Linked DNA regions of Homo sapiens: region 2 is linked to region 1. The links are contacts of gene promoters, found by promoter capture Hi-C in human tissues and cell types (Jung and others, 2019). All regions are on one chromosome and are shown on one strand. Each heading gives the region's core, a stretch centred on a gene start or on the middle of the fragment in contact. The rest is flanking DNA. Distances are from core to core; before and after follow the strand shown.

Region 1 (7,189 bases), core at 3,418-5,917:
AAAATTAGCTGGGCGTGGTGGTGGTGGCGGCCCGTTTCCTGTAATCCCAGCTATTTAAAAGGCTGAGGCAGCCTCGCTTAAGCCCAGGAGTTCAAGGTAAGAGGATTATTTGAGCACGGGAGTTCAGGCTGTAGTGAGCTGGGATTGCGCCACTGTATTCCAGCCTGGGAGATAGAATGAGACCCTATCTCAAAAAAAAAAAAAAAAAAAGGTATCTTGCACCCTCTTTTAATCTGTGATTGTGTATAGGGGAAAGAACAGTCTTTAGTGTAACTCTATGCTAGTTGTTTCTCATTGAGCATCATCTGATTTTTATTTTAAGGTTTATTTTGTCAGGCCCCTTTGGATCTTCTTTCCTGTATTAGGCATATGTAACCCTACACTTTTTTTTTTTTTTTTTTTTAAATAGTCTCACTCTGTCGCCCAGGCTGGAGTGCAGTGGCATGATCTCAGCTCACTGCAGCCTCCGCCTCCCAGGTTCAAGTGATTCTCCTGCCTCAGCCTCCTGAGTAGCTGGGATTACAGGCGCACACCACCATGCCCGGCTAATTTTTGTATTTTTAGTAGAGACGGGGTTTCACCATGTTGGCCAGGATGGTCTCGATCTCCTGACCTCGTGATCCACCCGCCTCCACCTCCCAAAGTGCTGGGATTACAGGCGTGAGCCACCGCGCCTGGCCCAATCCTATGCTGTTTCTTAAATCGCCTACTGCGTTCCACATATATGGTCATTTGTAAATTGACAGAGTATACCAGGTGCCAGGATCATAATATGGAAGGTAGTGTAACATGGCAGTTAAGAATGTGGACTTTGAAGTCAGATGACTCAGGTTGGGATCCTGGCTTGTCACATACTTGAACAACACCTAACAATAAGACTTCTTTTTTGGCTGGGCATGGTGGCTCAAGACTGTAATCCCAGCACTTTGGGAGGCTGAGGTGGGTGGACCACTTGAGGTCTGGAGTTCGAGACCTGCCTGGCCAACATGGTCAAACCCCATCTCTACTAAAAATACAAAAATTAGCCGGGTATGGTGGCATGCGCCTTTAGTCCCAGCTACTCGGAAGGCTCATGCATGAAGAATCACTTGAACCTGGGAGGCGGAGGCTGCAGTGAGCCAAAATTGCACCACCGCAGTCCAGCCTAGGTGACAAAGCAAGACTCCATCTCCAAAAAAAAAAAAAAAAAAAAAAAATGCTGGGGTCGGTGGCTCACACCTGTAATCCCATCATTTTGGGAATCTGAGGCAGGCAGATCACCTGAGGTCAGGAGTTCGAGACCAGCCTGACCAATATGGTGAGCCCCGTCTCCACTAAAAATACAAAAATTAGCCAGGGCTTGTGGTCCCAGCTGCTCGGAAGGCTGAGACAGGAGAATTGCTTCAACCTGGGAGGCAGAGGTTGCAGTGAGCTGAGATCGTGCCACTGCACTGCAGCCTGGGCGACAGAGCAAGATTCCATCTCAGAAAAAAAAAAAAAAAGGACTTCTTTTTCTGTAAAATGGGTTGATATGGCATGAGGATTAAATAAGCCAATCTGTGAAGTATACAGAAGTGTAGATCTAGACCAGTGCACAGCCAGCCACTGCTTGTACTCCATCTCATCCTCATTTTACCTTTACCTAGAACAGACAGTATCAGTGAAGCTGCTATCCATGCTTGTGTTAAAGTGAATGCCCAATACAAAAGCCAGGCTTTACTAAGGTCCACAGCAGGCCCGTGGGGCTTCTACCGTAAGAACTATATTTTTCCCTAATTGTGACTATTTTTCTTTTGCAGCCACAGGTGGAATTAAGAAATCTGGCAAAAAGTAAGCTGTTCCTTGTGCCTGAGGAGATGGTGACCCTTTATTTCATCTGTATTTAAACCTCTCTATTCCCTGCCATAACATCTTTTGCCACGTATAGCTGGAATTAAGTGTTGTCTTGGAGCTGTTGTACATTTAAGAATAAACTTTTGTAAAAAAAGAAAAATCTTACAGTGGCTCATCATCTCTTTAGTTGTTTTCACTAAGTCGTTCCTACCATAACTGTGAATTTAAAGTAAAACCAGCTCAGAATCTTGCCAGAGTCTGTTCTTTGGTCCTTGTTCTACCCTAAACTTTGTATCACCTGAAATTAAACCAACTCATTTGAAAGGATGGCGTTCTTGTGTGGTTGTATACCTGACAGAATACCTTACATGAGTTTAGTGGAAGAATTTGCACTTTTTTTTGGTGGGGGAGGGGGTGGAGTCTCACTCTCACCCAGGCTGGAGTGCAGTGGCATGATCTCTGCTCAATGCAACCTCCACCTCCCGGGTTCAAACTATTCTCCTGCTTTGGCCTCCCAAGTAGCTGTGGTTACAGGCACCCGCCACCATGCCTAGCTAATTTTTTGTATTTTTAGTAGAGAGGGGTTTCACCATGTTGGCCAGGCTGGTCTCAAACTCCTGACCTCAAGTGATCTGCCTGCTTCAGCCTCCCAAAGTGCTGGGATTACAGGCATGAGCCACTGTGCCTGACCAGAATTTGTGCTTTTAAAAGAAAACCCATCTTTATGTTGTCACATCCAAATTGCCGTATATTTTGATGAGACTTGTTCATCTGTTCATGTAAGGCGTCTGCTATATGCAGGCACTGGGGTATGTAACGGAACAGTTCCTGTTGTCAAGGAACTTCTCTACTGTGGAAGAGGCAGGGCAGGGCAAATTACATGATCCTTCAAGTTGCTAGCAGTGAAGTCCCCATGCGCACCAAACAGGTCCAGGGCAGCAGCTGCGGGAAGCCCCAGCCCACTTGCTGGTGGATGGAGGGGGTGCCAGTGCCAGGCAAGGGGTTGGGGGTGAGGCAAAATGGGGGCTCACTCTACCTCCTGCTGCCCAGGACTGGAGTCCCAGGCATACCTACCGCTTGCCCCTCAATAAATGCAAAGACAGAGACCATCCATAATGTGTGCTGAATATGTTTTAAAATGCTTAGCTGGGTGTGGTGGTGCACTTCTGTAGTCCCAGCCATTTGGGAGGCTGAGGTGGGAGGATCACTTGAGCCCAGGAGTTCGAGGCTGCAGTGAGCCAAGATCACACCACTGCACTCCAGCCTGGGAGACAGAACAAGACCCTGTATTTAAAAAAAAAAAATTAATTCAGAAGCACAAGTATTTGGATTTCCCTCCCAGGCCCTTAATACAATTATGTTAATAATGCTCAGCTTTCTCTGAGAATATTGTCGAAGAGCGCTCTGGAACCATTATGAGACTGCTAAATCAAAACTAGGTTTTAGAATATTGAAAACTTTCATGATTAATGTACTAGATATTAACGCGGGAGAGGGGGCAGGGGGAAGCCTGTGTTGGTCCTCTCCAGAAAGTTGCACAGCCAGTAGCACCCTTCAGTAGGCTTCAGGCATTCCCTGTGGGGCCTTGCTAGCTGGCACCCAGCCGTATGCTGCTAAAACAAACCTGAGCACCAGTGATTCACACTGTTCCTGAAAGCAAGTTACTTGGTGGAACCTATCCCTCTTTAACAAATGAACAGTCCTGTCTCTTTCCAGGACCAGAGTCCTGCAGCAATTAAGCATGCAACACTTGGGAAGCTATCTGACGGAGACTACCAGTTGCTCCAAAAAATTTTAAACTCCTTAGACATTATAGGCCCTGATAGCACTCTCTTTTTCATTTACTCTTTTCATTTAATGCTTTCACAAATATTCCTAGGACACTCACAGGTGAAGTTTGGCACTGAGCAGGTAAGGCTGAAAGAGTCTTGCTCCTGTTACTCTCCATTGCCAAATTCTCTATTGCGGCTAACTTCTGCACACCACAGCTGCCCAATAAAATCTGTCAGGCACGCAAGCCCACCTCAAATTGCTGCTCCTTTGTGAAGCTTTACCTCTGTTCGCCACCGGTAACTCTTACCTGGCCTTTGTGTGGCCTCCCTTTCAATGTAGAATTCTCGTGTTAGTCTTATGTGCCAGCCTCCTACCCCTCTATCCTGCTAACTTGACTCAACTTGTAGGACAGCGCAGGTGCCATTTACAGGGGGACTTCCTTGACCTCCTGAGCCCTATTCTATACAACCAGAGCTTAGGAAAAAAAAACAGTCCAGCACTCAGAGGAATGGATGTTAACAGCCTGAGCAGCTCCCACCCCCTCCCACACAAGAACAGCTCCAAACATCATTCCTCCTTGGACTTTCCTCCTCCCTGGGCCTACCTCAAATGTACACATGTGAAACATTCACTAAACCCGAAGATGTCTGCACACGACAGCTCTATTCATACTCCTCACCCAACAAATTCCACTCTCCTCAAGAAAGCCTAGGGGTTTGTGGGAGGTGGGTCTGGCGGCAGAAGGAAAGCGAGGTCACGGAGACCACATCCCTGAATGATGCCTGGCTCGACTCAAACGCAACACGCGTGAATGCTAGGGCAGGCTGCTCCTGCGCGGCCCTCCTCCACGGAATGCCAGGGAGGGAGCGCAAAGCCACCAGCGCGGCGGAGCTGGTGCGCCTCCGGCCCGCCTCTCCGGTAACGGGTCGCGCCGCACTGAGTCCTTGCAGCAAACCTGCCGAATCCCGCCCGTGGACCTCTAAACACCGGGCGGGGCCGGGTGTGGCGGCGCGCTCGGACGTTCGTCATTCCTCCGCGCCCTCCGCCTGCCAGCTGATTGGCCCCTGGGCCAGGGGCGGGGCACTCGCGGCGGAGGCAAGCGGCGGCGCGCGGACGGTTGGTCCAGTTCTCCGGCCTGGCGGCAGGCAAGTCTAGCTCGGCGCTGTCGGATACTTGGGGTGAGCGGAAAGCATGGCGGGGACCTCCGCGCCAGGCAGCAAGAGGCGGAGCGAGCCCCCGGCGCCTCGCCCCGGCCCGCCGCCGGGCACCGGGCACCCCCCGAGCAAGCGGGCCCGGGGCTTCTCCGCAGCCGCTGCCCCGGACCCTGACGACCCGTTCGGCGCGCATGGGGACTTCACTGCCGACGACCTGGAGGAGCTTGACACCCTCGCGTCACAGGCCCTGAGCCAATGTCCGGCCGCGGCTCGGGACGTGTCCAGTGAGTGCTCCTCGCGGCCTTTTGCTCGGAGGGAGTTGTCAACCGCGCCAGATCCCCTTGATGGCTGTGGCTTCGGAACCTCGCGGCCAGCACTGCCTTTTCGCCTTTTTAAAATATGGGAACACCCTGATTTAAGCAGCGGTTGTCTTCCAGAAGGTCCTTTGATTTTAGGGGGAAATGCATTAGCCAGGTCAAACAGCCGATTTGAAACACAGAAGGCTAAGTTGACATTTTACGTTATTTTCTAAAGTTTAGGCCACTTGGTTCTTGGTTCTAAGCAGAGATCCTTGGAACACACCTACCACCACCATCAGAACCATCACTACCCATGCATGGGGACCCATTCTTGTGACAAGTTTGAGCGGCTTTAGATCTTATGAAGCCCACTGTCTCCCTTGGGCAGTGTGAGCATGGGAGGAGCCAGACACAGGCAAGAGATGAAATAAATTTATTCTTTTATACAACCAGTAAACTGTGCTAGGTGCCCAAACGTGAGGAACTGCAGCTGACCTTACAATGAACAAAATACAAAAACTGTCCTTCATGGAGCTTACATTCTAGTTGAGGAGTGAGTGAAGTCTTGAGGACTCCCAGAAAGAGAAATGTTTTGAGTGCACCTTGCATCTGTACTTGGGTGTCTCAAGGCACCTTAAACTCAACACGATCATTTCCTGGAAACCCAGTCCTCCTCCAGCACTTCTAGCATGGTGCCGGCAAAGCAGACATTCAGAGAATGATGACCAGATGTTCCACAAGGAAGTAACTAGCACGACTCTCCATCCAGTGGCACAAAGCGACTCTTCCCCTTTCCTTGACTCTACATCTAATTTATTTGGAAAGCATGTCAAGCTTACCTTCTTAATCCTTCTCTGGAGTCTATCCTATTCACATTGCTTCTACCAGCTGCCTGATCTGTGTTACCATGAGTCCTCTCTTGAACAATGGTCTGCTAAATTGGTTTCCCATTTCCAGTCTTGACTCCCTACAAGTGAGGCTTCACATCACATTCTGAGTGATCTTTTCAAAACTCAAATCTGGCTGTGTCTTACACAGATATACGTGAACACCCTTTTTTTTTTTTTTTTTTTTGACGGAGTCTCACTCTGTCACCCAGGCTGAAGTGCAGTGATGCCATCTTGGCTCACCACAGCCTCTACCTCCCAGGTTCAAGAGATTCTCTTGCCTCAACCTCCCGAGTAGCCTCAGCCTCCCAAGTAGCTGGGATTACTTGTGCCCGCCACCATGCCTGGCTAATTTTTGTATTTTTAGTAGAGACGGGGTTTCGCCATGTTGGCCAGGCTGGTCTCAAACTGCTGACCTCAGGTGATCCACCCGCCTTGGTCTCCCAAAGTGCTGAGATTACAGGTATGAGCCATCCGCACCCAGCCATGAACACCCCTAATGAAAGCCCTTTAATAATTTCTTATTTCTTCTAGTGTGAAGACCAGAATCCTTAACATGGCCTGAAAGGCCCAGCCTGGTTTGGCCCTTTCTCACTCTCTGGGTCCTGGCTGCACTAACATTCTTTGAATTCTCTCTGCTTCTTTACAATACAGGAACTTTATACATTGTTCTTTCTTTGTACATTGAGTATACTTTTCATTCATTCATTTCCACTCATCTGGTTAATTCCTACTTGTCCTTCAGCTCTCAGCTCCTTCAAGTCTTCCCTAGGGAAATGTTCCAATCATCCCACTTAAGTCAGATTGCTGTCATATTATAGGCTTTCCTATATTTGTTCTCTTCTGCAGTTCTTAATCACAGTTGTAATTTTACATTTATCTGTGTGATTATTTGTTGAATGTCTTTTAAGCTCTGTGAGTGTAAGGAAGTATCAATTTTGCTCACTATTGTACCTGTAGAGCCTAACATGCCTGGCATATTGCATGTGGTCAGTAACTATTACTGAATAATAAGTAGATCATTGAGTTCTGGCCAATGAGATCTCCTCAGGCTTTAGATGAGACTCTTGGAATTGGATGAAGGATAGGGAAAGAATAATAGGATCTGTTGTTTTAGAAGGATCATTTATGAGTTTCAGCCGGGTGTGGTGGCTCACGCCTGTAATCCCAGCACTTTGGGAGGCCAAGGTGGGCTGATCACTTGAGGCGAGGAGTTTGAGACCAGGCTGGCCAATATGGTGAAACCCCGTCTCTACTAAAAATA
Region 2 (6,769 bases), core at 1,357-3,856, 630 kb before region 1:
GAGGTGCCACACAATTTAAACAAGATTGGCTGGGCATGATGGCTCACGCCTGTAATCCCAGCACTTTGGGAGGCCAAGGTGGACGGATTGCCTGAGCTCAGGAGTTCCAGACCAGCCTGGACAACACAGTGAAACCCCATCTCTACTAAAATACAAAAAATTATCCAGGCGTGGCAGTCTGCGCCTATAGTCCCAGCTACTTGGGAGGCTGAGGCAGGAGAATAGCTTTAACCCGGGAGGCAGAGGTTGCAGTGAGCCGAGATTACACCACTGCACTCCAGCCTGGGCAACAGAGCAAGACTCAGTCTCAAAAAAAAAAAAAAAAAAGGCCATGTGTGGTGGTGGGCACCTGTAATCCCAGCTACTTGGGAGGCTGAGGCAGGAGAATCGCTTGAACCTGGGAGACGGGTTGCAGTGAGCTGAGATCGTGCCATTGCACTCCAGCCTGGGCAACAAGAGTGAGATGCCATCTCAAAAATAAATAAATAAATAAATAAAATAAACAACAGGATCTCATGAGAGGCTGGGCGCAGTGGCTCACACCTGTAATCCCAGCACTTTGGGAGGCCAAAGTGGGCGGATCACTTGAGGTCAGGCATTTGAGACCAGCCTGGCCAACATGATGAGACCCGTCTCTACTAAAAATACAGAAAATTAGCTAGGCGTGGTGGTGTGCACCTGTATTCCCAGCTACTTGGGAGGCTAAGGCACGAGAATTGCTTGAACCCAGGAGGTGCAGGTTGTAGTGAGTCAAGATTGTGCCACTGCACTCCAGCCTGGGCGACAGGGCAAGAATCCATCTCAAAAAAAAAAAAAAGATTTCATGAGAATTTACTCACTATCACAAGGATAGTAGCAAGCCATGAGGGATCCATTCTGTGACCCTTCAACAGCAGAGATTACATTTCCTTTTTTTTTTTTTTTGAGACGGAGTCTCACTCTGTTGTTGCCCAGGCTGGAGTGCAGTGGCACGAGCTTGGCTCACTGCAACCTCTGCCTCCCGGGTTCAAGCAATTCTCCTGCCTCAGCCTCCCGAGTAGCTGGGACTACAGGCGTGTGCCACCACACCCGGGTAATTCTTGTATTTTTAGTAGAGATGGGATTTCGCCATATTGGCCAGGCTGGTCTGTAACTCCTGAGCTCAAGTGATTTCGCCCATCTCGGCCTCCCAAAGTGTTGGGATTACAGGCGTGAGCCACCAGCAGGAGATTACATTTCAACATGAGATTTGGGTAGGGACAAATATCCACACTATATCAAAGTCATTCTTTCGTTAGTGATCATAGAAACTCTGGCAAGTCTTGCCGGGCGCGGTGGCTCACGCCTGTAATCCCAGCACTTTGGGAGGCCGAGGCAGGCGGATCACGAGGTCAGGAGATTGAGACCATCCTGGCCAATATGGTGAAACCCCGTCTCTACTAAAAATACAAAATAAAAAATTAGCCGGGTGCGGTGGTGGGTGCCTATAGTCCCAGCTACTCGGGAGGCTGAGGCAGGAGAATGGTGTGAACCCAGGGGGCGGAGCTTGCAGTGAGCCGAGATCGCGCCACTGTCTGGCCTGGGCGAAACAGCGAGACTCCATCTCAAAAAACAAAAAGAAATTCTGGCAAGTCTTGAAATTAGTGCTCTACAGCACACTGAGTGAGGGGGTTGCATAGGCAATGGCAGAATTGAGCCTTGACAGGGCTATAGGGTAGAGTTCACAATGTGTTTATAGGAGGTAAAGTAGCCTGTGGGGACTTTAGGGGCCAGATCCTGAGAGCTTTGTATTTCTTAGAACATGACTTTTTTTCTTCAAGAGACTGAAGAGTAAAGGGCCTGTAGCCCGTGTTGAAGCTGATTCTGAGGCTTCTGTCTGAGGATATTTTACAAATAAATAAGAACCATAACAGAACGTCTATAACTGCTGATTAAATAGGTCTTCCTGATTGTGTCTTCTCTCTCTCTAAGTTGTGTTCCTCGAGGCCTGGGAAACCCCTGGCCAAGTGGTGCCCTGTGTAACCCATTGAATGGGGCCAGAAGGAGGGCTGGACGTACTAGGGCTCAGAGAGCAGCATGTCCCTGCCTCCTTGTGTATCTCCAGCCACTCCATCTGTTTTCATATTGTTTGAAAAAATTTATTTCTGTCATCCTGGGCTTTTTTTTTTTTTTTTTTTTTGGCCAGCTGTATGTAAGAAGGAAAAAACTGAACTTGAGATTAGTGTGGGCAGCACATTTTTTTTTTTTAGCTAAAATTAGCACTTTGTGTTTACTTACTAACCAGTGGGCTTTATTGTCTACCCACTTGTAAAAGGTCGATGAAAGCAGGTTTTCTCATGGTGAGTGTCTCTGAATTAATAGTACTGATTTTGTAAAGAGATGGAAAGCCCAATAAAAATCACGATCCTCAGCTGAGCGCGGTGGCTCAGGCCTGTAATCCCAGCACTTTGGGAGGCTAAGGTGGGTGGACTACTTGACATCAGGAGTTCGAGACCAGCCTGGCCAACATGGTGAAACCCCGTCTCTACTAAAAAAAAATAAAAATAAAAATAAAAATCAGCCGGGCATGGTAATCCCAGCTACTTGGGAGGCTGAGGCAGCAAATCGCTTGAACCCAGGAGGCAGAGGTGGCAGTGAGCTGAGATCACACCACTGCACTCTAGCCTGGGTGACAGAGCGAGACTCTGTCTCAAAACAAAAAAAAAAAAAAAAAAAGAAAAAAAAATTTTTTTTTCCTGTCTGAGCGCCGTGTCTCATGCTTGTAATCCCAGCACTTTGGGAGGCTAAGACAAAAAGATTGTTTGAGCCAGGAGTTTGAGAGCAGCCTGGACAGCATTGGGAGACCCTGTCTCTCTGTATTTTTAGCAAGCTCCACCTCCCAGATTCATGCCATTTTTCTGCCTCAGCCTCCCGAGTAGCTGGGACTACAGGCGCCAGCCACCACGCCTGGCTAATTTTTTGTATTTTTAGTGGAGATGGGGTTTCACCATGTTAGCCAGGATGGCCTCAGTCTCCTGACCTCATGATCCACCCGCCTTGGCCTCCTAAAGTGTTGGGATTACAGGTGTGAACCACCACGCCCGGCCGTTTTTTGTTAGTTAGTTTTGTTTTGTTTTGTTCTGTATTTTTTTAAGAAATAAAATAATTAAAAAAATAATTTTTTTTTTTTTGGTGGAAACAGGGTCTTCCTATGTTTCCCAGGCTGTTCTCAAACTCCTGGCTTCATGTAATCCTCCTGCCTTGGCCTCCCAAAGTGTTGGGACTACAGGTGTGAGCCACTGTGCTTGGCTTGAGTTTTCCTTTTACATGTTTCTTTGCTCTTCATCATCAAATTATGAGTTCCTAGGGTGTCATGAACCTTGAGAGGAAATGTAAGTTGATGTGAAGCTTGAGGTTCCCGAGTTTCATTGACTGGGGCTTGAATCTGGCTTTCCCTAATACTAGCAAGGTGTTAACTTACCTGATCTTGTTTCCTACCTGCTATCTTCAGGACTACAGTGAAGATATTAGAGCTGAAATATAGGAAAAGCACCTGGCTATGGTCGGTGCTCAACCCTTACTCTTGGGCATGGTATGCCCTTGATAAATACTGGAGAGCTATAGCCTTGCCTCAGCATGCAGTGTGCTGTGAGGTTGCATGATTGAGCACCTGCTGTGTAGGAGACACTAGGGTGAAGAGAGCTCTGTTTCAGAGATGCTTCTTGGTACTCTGGAGCTTATAGCCTCAATAGGATGGGCCATTTGATGGTTCTGATGGAAACAGCTATAGCAATTCCATGCAGCATTGTGGATGGTGGCCCACTGGGTCTTGTGGCTAGCTACCATCTTTCTCATTATGTAATTTAACAAAGCTGTTGGTAAGAATGCCCATGTTCCTGGTAAGTTACTTGTTACTGCCCTTGCGAGCATCTTAACTTAGCTGTCTGATTTCTTACCTGTAATGCCATCGGACTCAGGCTACAAAGAGCAAGCTGAACAATAAAAAAGAGCAAAAAAAAAAAAAAAAAAAAAAAAAAAAGAGCAAGCTGAGTCTTTCACAGCCAGCACAAAACTTTGAAAAACACTGGATCAATAGCAAGAATGTGCATTTTCTCTCCAGGTACATGGTCAGAAGTGGGCTCAGTGAAGTTATGGGATTGTAACAACTCTCTCCCAATTGCTGAAAATGCTTAATGAGATAATAACTAATCATTGAATCATTTATTCTTTTTTTTTTTTTTTCAATCCAGCATCCCTGGATGTGAATGAGGACCCTCCTTAAACAGGAATGGAGAGGTTGAGCTGGTCATTTCCAACCTTAGCTTCAAGGCAGAACTGGAATTAGTTTCAAAATAAACCTTGATCCTAGGCATTTAGTTCTAGAAGATCCTACAAGCACGTCTGCTGTAACTCTATGTATGTTTTCTGTAAAATCACATACCTATAAAATAAAAAGAAAAAAATCACACATCTATAATATTATAAGAGAGCTTATGGGAAAAATAGAATTGGGCCAATGCAACTGCAACTTTTTGACCAAAATATGACAAAAAACAATTATTGGTGCTTGGGAAGATGCTTTGGACTACCTAGACAGGCAGCTCAGGGTGATGTGATGCTGCAAATGTACAAAGAGCCGTCTTCTTTTTTTTTTTTTTTTTTTTAAGACGGAGTCTTGTTCTGTGGCCAGGCTGGAGTGCAATGGCGCGATCTCGGCTCACTGCATCCTCCGCCTCCCGGGTTCAAGTCATTCTCGTGCCTCAGCCTCCTGAGTAGCTGGGACTACAGGCACACGCCACCATGCCCTGCCAATTTTTGTATTTTTAGTAGAGACGGGGTTTCACCATGTTGGCCAGGATGGTCTCGATCTCTTGACCTTGTGATCCGCTGGCCTCAGCCTCCCAAAGTGCTGGGATTATAGGCGTGAGCCACCGCGCCGGGCTACAAAGAGCCTTCTAATGTGAGCAGAGCTGGCAGTTACCGAGGAAGCCCAGGTGGAGGTGGAGTTCTGAAACAGCCACTGTGGTGAAGGAGTGTGTGCAGCTGGGACTGTGGGGGAGGAGGGTTGGAGTGCAGGACTTGCTTCTCCCCTAACATTTTGTTGTGAAAAATTTCAAAAATACTGAAACATTGAAGAAATTGTATAGTGAACACCTTTGTATCTACCACCTTGATTCTCTATAGGTATAGGCACTCAATTTTAATAAAAAAAAAAATAGCTGAAAGGGCTTTTTCTTTCCTGCTGAAGATTATAATTCTACTCCTGCTTTTTCAGCTCCTTTGCTTTCAGAATTTTTTGAAACAAGAGTCTTGTTTTACTGATATCTTTCTCCTCTTTACCAATTGTATATGAGTCAATTTGCATTCCACAAATGAACATCTTTGTAGAACAGGTGGTTTCTCAAGCTTCAGGTGTGTGTGGCCATCTCTGCTCCCCTTCTACCCCATTTACTGTACTGAAACCAGAGGGGCAAAGAGAGCAAAGAGTGCATGCATTTCTCCCAGCCCCAAGACTAGTGACTCTCTGAATGTCACCATTTAGGTGGTTTAAAAGGACCTTAAGCCTTCCTTACCCATATATTTCCACCTTCCTTACCCATGTATTTCCACCTTCCCGTGGAAGACTCAGTGCCTTAATTTTCGTTCATGTACCTCAAGTTGTTGGGACTTCTTAGAAATGTACTTTCTGGTTACTAATAAGTAGCATTTAGCCCCCAAATGAATGGAAGTATTTGGAATGGCAGGTTGTTCTCTTTTAGAAAGAGGGAGAAGGCTGGTAAGTGTGCGTCTGGTTTTAGCTCTCAAGCTGGACCCACATAGTCCAGTCGTCCCTCTCTTACCCAGCTCTTGGAGGGAAAGAATGATTTGAGATTTGGTGGCTGAGGTAGCCATCTGGGGAACGCATAGCAAAGGCGTAGGTAGCTACCATAAGAAGCAGACACGTGGTGCTTTTGAGTTGATGTAGTACCAAGGCTTTCAGCTTTCTCCTGTTGTCCTGTCACATCCTCACAACTTAAGACTAAGAGAAGTATATAGGATGGGTGTTAACCTCATAGGGGGTAGCTAAGGGAACAGGAAGAGTTTGAGGGCTCTCTCTAAGGCTGTCACATATCACATCATATGAGACGCTTGCCTTCTTCCTGTGTGGCGTTGTTAGTGCTGTTCCTCAGAACCTGTGGCTGCTCCCAGCACTGTCCAGCAGCCCTGTTGCCCAGAGCTCCTCACGGATGCTCTGAGTGAGTCAGTTCAGGGGTCTGTGACTGTGAGGGGTGAGAACATGTCGCCCTGATGCCCTCTCTCTTTCCCCAGATCGGGCCCAGCACAGGCAGCGTCAGTGCAAACTTCCCCCACCCCGCCTTCCACCCATGTGTGTCAACCCTACCCCAGGAGGGACCATCTCTCGAGGTAAGGGAGGAGCCTTGCCTCCAGCAACAGCTTGGTCCAGGGTCTGTGGGGAGGTGGGTGGCAATGGGAGCCCTGGTGCCAGGGCCACAGCCCTCCAGAAAGTGAGTGAGGAAGGGTGGGATTAGCAGAGCTATTGGAGCCCTGAGGGAGAAATTACTTGGAAAAGTCTGGATTTTTTCATGATCCCTTGACTCATGGCCTGGACCCTGCAGTCTTCTTGGGCCTCCTTGTGTGGCCTGGACTAAAGCCTAGGCTCAGTTTGGGTGGTTCTCTCAGCACCCGCATGGAGAATCCGCAGGGCTTGGGGCCTCGAGGCTCCTAGAAGTCCCTGATCAGGTGGCTCAGAGAGCAGGGTGCTTGTAGCAGGGCTGGAACAGATAGCCCTGACTCAACCCTAGTGCTTTCC

Evidence for each region. Contacts are between HindIII fragments. The study calls those that stand out against the background at their distance.
Region 2: a contact is called between a fragment that was not itself captured here and the fragment with the promoter of ATRIP in region 1, in 1 of the 25 tissues and cell types used here (lymphoblastoid cells).

Annotation. Positions count from the first base shown.
Region 1 is chr3:48,442,070-48,449,258 of GRCh38, forward strand. It overlaps ATRIP (ATR interacting protein), which reads left to right and starts at 4,668. Exons shown (of 13, transcript NM_130384.3): 1 at 4,668-5,023. The coding sequence starts at 4,777. It overlaps ATRIP-TREX1 (ATRIP-TREX1 readthrough), which reads left to right and starts at 4,710. Exons shown (of 15, transcript NR_153405.1): 1 at 4,710-5,023. It overlaps TMA7 (translation machinery associated 7 homolog), which reads left to right. Exons shown (of 4, transcript NM_015933.6): 4 at 1,779-2,139. The coding sequence ends at 1,813. It also overlaps a transcript of CCDC51 not described here. RefSeq lists a silencer at 4,613-4,972. The HindIII fragment of the contact is 4,147 bases long and covers 720-4,866 here.
Region 2 is chr3:47,811,755-47,818,523 of GRCh38, forward strand. DHX30 (DExH-box helicase 30) reads left to right here. Exons shown (of 22, transcript NM_138615.3): 4 at 6,268-6,363. Among named protein-coding and RNA genes, the nearest start is that of DHX30, 12 kb to the left of the region's middle. RefSeq lists an enhancer at 5,828-6,328. The HindIII fragment of the contact is 3,517 bases long and covers 849-4,365 here.